2 separate regions of the Homo sapiens genome follow, and region 2 is linked to region 1. The links are contacts of gene promoters, found by promoter capture Hi-C in blood cells and fetal thymus (Javierre and others, 2016). All regions are on one chromosome and are shown on one strand. The core of a region is centred on a gene start or on the middle of the fragment in contact, and the rest is flanking DNA. Distances in the headings are between cores, read along the strand shown. Region 1 holds the start of EGFR-AS1 (EGFR antisense RNA 1). Region 2 overlaps LOC105375284 (a long non-coding RNA gene).

Region 1 (2,700 bases), core at 28-2,527:
CCTACTTAAGAGGAAATGAGCAGGTTCTTCTCTGGACAACACTTCCAGATTAGGAAGTATTATGTCAGGATGGTGGGTGGAAAGGGAGAGGAGAGGGGGGGCAGAAGCCGAGGAAGCGCTTCCCAAAAGAGGACTGGCCCAGACTCCCTGCTACTCTGGCAGCCTGGGTCTCCTTCAGAGGCAAGCTCCCTGCCCCCGCTGTCTGCCTCGTTTGACTCCTGCGATGCTGACTTGCTCTCTGCCTGGTACCCTGTCTCTTACAGAGCAAGGCCTCTGTTTATTAAATATCATGAACTCCTGCCCATTCGAAAGGGAGAGTTAGGCTCAGCCTCTTGCTGGTTCAACTGAGTGTCTACCTTCTTGGCTGTGTGAACTCCCAGGCTATCTCCTCTTCTCTCTTCTCTGTCCCTTGATTTCTCACCCTCACCCTTGCTTTCTCCTTTCTTTCTACCCTGTTCGTTCTTCACATTTGTACCTTTTGTTCGTTCTTCACATTTGTTGAAGGCGTCCTCTGTGGTAGCTGTTGAGCAGGAGTGGCACAGGCCTACAGTAAAGAGCCACACACAAGTCCCCATGCAGAGGACCAGGAACCTCTCCCTTTCTCCCTCTCTATTTAAAATGCGTGGTTTCTACATATTCATTAAGCCCACAAGGAGGCCCTCAGAGCACATTCCCAGCTTCGTTTCACCACCACTGCTAACTTTCATTCTGCCTCTTTAAATGCTTAGCGGAGATTTTGGTATACTGGGCACATTTTTAAAACGGCCTGTTGAAGAATGAACAACTGAATGAATGAATGATTGAATGACTGGTGATAGCAGCTGACAGTGCTGAGCACTGGCGATGTGCCAGCCCTTTCACACACGTCCGTGCAGACACCTTTTCTATCCCAGTCCCCACACGACCACCTCGTTAGATGACCTGGGGTCCAGAGACTGAAGCATGTGGCTGCACAGACCAAATACCCTGAGACCCCAAGACCACTACTGGGACCATGGCTTTAATTGCCCTGCTGGGAAATGCACCTGCTAAGCCAGAGGCTGCTTGGGGTTTTATATATATGCATATGTGTGTATATATATATATGTATATGTGTATATATATATACACACACACACACACACACATTATGTGTGAGAGCATGAGACAGCGTGAGCATGCACCTTGGTCCCGTGCCTCTGGGGAAGTCCGCGTCACTCTGTCAATCTAACAAATCCAGCTGACCTCTGGCCCAGCCCTTCCCCACTCCTCACACCAGGGCTTTAAAGGACCTGAGCCATTTCTACACAGTGTCTGTTTCCTCAGAACACCGGTCTTCACCAAAGGCGTGGGAAAGGGCAGAGAGCACAGGACATATTCTGGAATTCAGGTAATCAGTTGGAGGGTTTTAAGTCAGAGACAGCTTTGGGACAAGGAGAGAATCCCATGTGAACTTAGAGGAGACTTGACGCATGGGTCTCCGTCCCACTGCCGGCACATTTGAAAGGACAACTCTGTGCCTGGCGCAGTTATGCTTTAACTGGTCCCCAAAGATAAGAGCTGCGATACGGCCTGTGAGCTCCCAGGGTCCGAGCAGAGGTCGCAGGAAGAAATATCAACAAAGCCTCAGCGGGGCCTCTCAGGAAACTCAGTTCCTGCTTCTTCTCCGAGACCCTCACTTTAATTGAAATTAAAATATTTATTTTTGTTAATTACTACAGGAAAACTGGAATGAATTTTGAAATACAGCACTGAGGTTAAAAGGGGATTTGAAAAGCCAGCCTGGAACTTCCACTTACAAAAAAGAAGGCTCTGCTCCACATGGCTGTCGGGGCTTATTCTGGCAGGGTACCCCAGAGTGAGGGGCGGGGGCTGTGTTTGACCTTGAAGGGCTGGGTGTTCCCAGGGGCTGCCGCACCCCACGAGTCTTGGGAGGAGTTCAGAGTGAGAGGCGGGAACTGGATTGTTTGTGTTCTATTTTGTAAATCTCCTGTGGAAGAGCTCATGGAGCAGTGACTTAGGAAGGAAGTGGAGGAGGGGAGGACGAGAAGGCCGCGTGGTTCTGGTGGAGTGGAGGGCTTTCCTATCAACACTATTCTGTTGTTGCTGTTGTTCAGAAGTATTTATTTAAAGCAAGATCAGAAAGAGGCTTAAGGTTCATCATCTTCAAAATAACCCACCTCTACCAGAACCATGCTGAGACCAAGACCACCATCACCCTTCCCCTGGGGGCTGGGGCTCACCTCTCACCTCCACTTTGGGCTGGTCCTGAGGCAGGCAAGGCCAGACACTCTTGGCCACAGCTAGGGAGAAGGTGAGGGGCCCCGCAGGGCTTTCTCAGGCCTCATCTTCCAGGATCCCCCTGTACAAATGATGGTGTTCTCCCCTCAACCTTTTAGCCCTTGGGGTGCTGGTGGGGAGGGCAGCCCCACCCCAGAGACCCACCTGCAACTGGTAGAGGTAAGGGATGGGGTTCAGGGGGGCTCTGAAACTACGGATCTGATGAAGTTTTTAAGCAGAGTGGTCACCAGGAGAAGCCTCCGCTCCTGTCTCTGGACTCCAGATCTCAGAGCATCTGTGGCCTTGAGCTCCCTAAAAAATGGAAGAGTCTGTTCCTCAGGCCAGCTTGCCACCTTCCCAGGCAGGCATAGAGTAAGTGCTAGACCTCGGAAGAGGCAGGAAAGTGTCAGAATGTCCTATTCCTAGACAGAAGTGGTGCAG
Region 2 (2,700 bases), core at 123-2,622, 190 kb after region 1:
GCACCTTCCATGTGACAAGCACAGAGCTCGGATGGGCAGCCAACCATGAACAAGAAGGACACGGCCACGTGCCACATGCACGGGAGGTAGGCAAGTGTGGAACACAGGAGAGTCATGAAGAACATGACTGTGAACTGTGATAGGCACTGGGAAGGAAACAGCAGGGGCTGAGAAACAGAATGAGGGCCTCAGGATGCTTCAAGCGAAGCCATGGAGGAAGGTTTTTCTGAAAATTTGATGTATAAGCTGCTATCTAAAGGGCATGATGGAACCAAGGGCAGTCGTCCTTCTTGGCATTCATTGATAGATGGAGCTATCTGTGGAGACCCCCGAGAAGCTACGGAGGTGCAGGTGTATTCGCCTCTACATTGATTCTACATCTGGGTGGCTATGCATTCACTAACTTATAATGTTTTTCTTTCCTTTTCATCATCTGCCAGGTGAGCAAGTCAATCATCACCTTTTAAACACTTGAGATTTCTAATCTATTTGTGGCTGAGAAATCTAACAATTGTGCTGGTTAGAATTACATAAGGATGACATTGGCTTTGGATGAGGTCTCTCCTGTGAGTGTCGTAAACCAAACTTCAGAGCCTGAGCTGTGTACTAGTGCACTCATTAAACTTCTCAGAGACCAGTTTTGTTCCTGAGATCTTGGTTAAGTTCTGGACAAGTGAGGTTCTAGGTAAGTGGCCTCTGGGCAAGTGAGGTGTTGCTGTGCAATCCTAAGCAATTATGACACAGGTTACCTTTGTAAATTAGGTGGCCAAAATCTGTAGGGCCCTAGGGTGTACGGGATTCACTGTAGGCCTGGGAGAGCCCTGGGCAAATGGACTGACGAGCTCTCTATCTGATGTGGTTTTCTGTCCCTCCACTGATGACTGCCCCTTCTCCCATGCGATAAGGTGTTCCTCCCTCGTCACCCAAATGAGGATCTCTATCTTTGCATTCTCCAGGACAGACACCCCAGCTTAGGAGCATTGTGTTTGATGTAAAAGGAAATGGGGTGGAAAAATATGCAAGTGTCTCATCTCTCCTGTCAAGTGCATGGCTACTTGGTAAGCACTGATTTAGAAACTTGGAGATCTTTTCCATGTATTTGACCTTCAGCTTGACTGGGCACACAGGAGAAGGAACAGAAGAAGAGTGTTTTTATAGCAACTTATCTTCCAGGGATGTCACTGTTTCAACTGAAATTAACTTTCCCCTCCCACAAGAGAGTTTGATGGTGGGTAAAAGGGAAGCAAATTCTAAAATGATTTTGTCTTTAAAGAGAATCAAGAGTGATTGTGGTTCCGAGGTCAGGAGGTCGAGACCATCCTGGCTTACACGGTGAAACCCCGTCTCTACTAAAAATACAAAAAATTAGCTGGGCGTGGTGGCAGGTGCCTGTAGTCCCAGCTACTTGGGAGGCTGAGGCAGGAGAATGGCTTGAACCTGGGAGGCAGAGCTTGCAGGGAGCTGAGATAGCGCCACTGCACTCCAGCCTGGGCGACAGAGCGAGACTCCATCTCAAAAAAAAAAAAAAAAAAAAAAGGAGTGATTGTGTTTCTTGCCTCTTTGTTATAGTATCTCTAACACAGGAGTCCTTTTTTATCATTGTAGATTACATCCTCTACCCCAAGAATGCCACCCTGCTTCAGATCACTCCACTCCAGGGCCTACTGGAGAGACAGAAGAATGTGGGAGAAATGCGAGCTTGAGATGATTTTGCTCTTGTTATTAAAATGCTCTTCTCATTGTGTGGTAAAATTACAGAAAATGTCTTTCTCTTCAGAAAACAAAGACTTCAGCCCCAAAGAGGGCCCAAGAGAGTTTTAGGACAAATTTGCATCTCTCTGGCAGGAACTATGTATGAATTCAAGACAGAAAAGGAATATTTACATAATGTATACTATATTTCTGTTATAGCTTTCCAGAGAGCTCCCTAGCAAGAACTGGGAAGAGGTATGAGGGGCAAGAAAGCTCCAAGCAGCCTCCCCTACTGAAAGCTAATTGTAGTGGCACTGATTGAAAGGTGGTGGAAGTTGTAGAAAGCCCTAGAGAGCAATCAACAGGCTTAGGGCAGGCTGACCCCAAGACCTTGGGTCACTGTGTGGCTTTGAGCAAATTGCGTAATCTATTTTGGCCCTAATTCTCTCTTTTTAAAAATGAGATTGCACACCAGCAACTGTTGTTGCTCTTTCAGCTTGGAAGTGCTGTCTTTGTGGGTAAATAAGGCATTTTTAAGGCTAGTCTAAATTTACAAGTGAACCTGTGGAGGCCCTGGAAATACACTTACATATTTCACATAGGACTACTGTAGTCACTACAATGAGAAAGAATTTCACTTCCTGCATTGGATCGGGTGGATTAGAGTTGGTGCATATAAAGCAGCTATGACATGAAAATATTCCACAGATGGTAGTCATTGTTATTTTTTTTTTTATTTTTTTTTTTAGATAGAGTTTTGCTCTTGTCGTCCAGGCTGTAGTGCAATGGCGCAATCTCAGCTCACTGCAACCTTCACCTCCTGGATTCAAGCAATTCTCCTGCCTCAGCCTCCCAAGTAGCTGGGATTACAGGCGCCCACCATCATGCCCAGCTAATTTTTATACTTTTAGTAGAAACAGGATTTCACCGCATTGGCCAGACTGGTCTCGAACTCCTGACCTTAGGTGATCTGCCTGCCTCGGCCTCCCAAAGTGCTGGGATTACAGG

Evidence for each region. Contacts are between HindIII fragments. The CHiCAGO score rates a contact against its expected background, and 5 or more counts as called.
Region 2: a contact is called between a fragment that was not itself captured here and the fragment with the promoter of EGFR-AS1 in region 1, in 1 of 17 cell types (endothelial precursors). The highest score is 9.1, in endothelial precursors.

What each region holds. Positions count from the first base shown.
Region 1 is chr7:55,187,526-55,190,225 of GRCh38, reverse strand. EGFR-AS1 (EGFR antisense RNA 1) reads left to right here and starts at 1,277. Exons shown (of 2, transcript NR_047551.1): 1 at 1,277-1,369. All of the region lies in intron 20 of EGFR (epidermal growth factor receptor), which reads right to left. The HindIII fragment of the contact is 13,947 bases long and covers 1-2,700 here.
Region 2 is chr7:54,992,714-54,995,413 of GRCh38, reverse strand. LOC105375284 (a long non-coding RNA gene) reads left to right here. Exons shown (of 4, transcript XR_007060329.1): 2 at 2-685; 3 at 957-1,058; 4 at 1,606-1,755. Among named protein-coding and RNA genes, the nearest start is that of EGFR, 25 kb to the left of the region's middle. The HindIII fragment of the contact is 3,455 bases long and covers 1-2,700 here.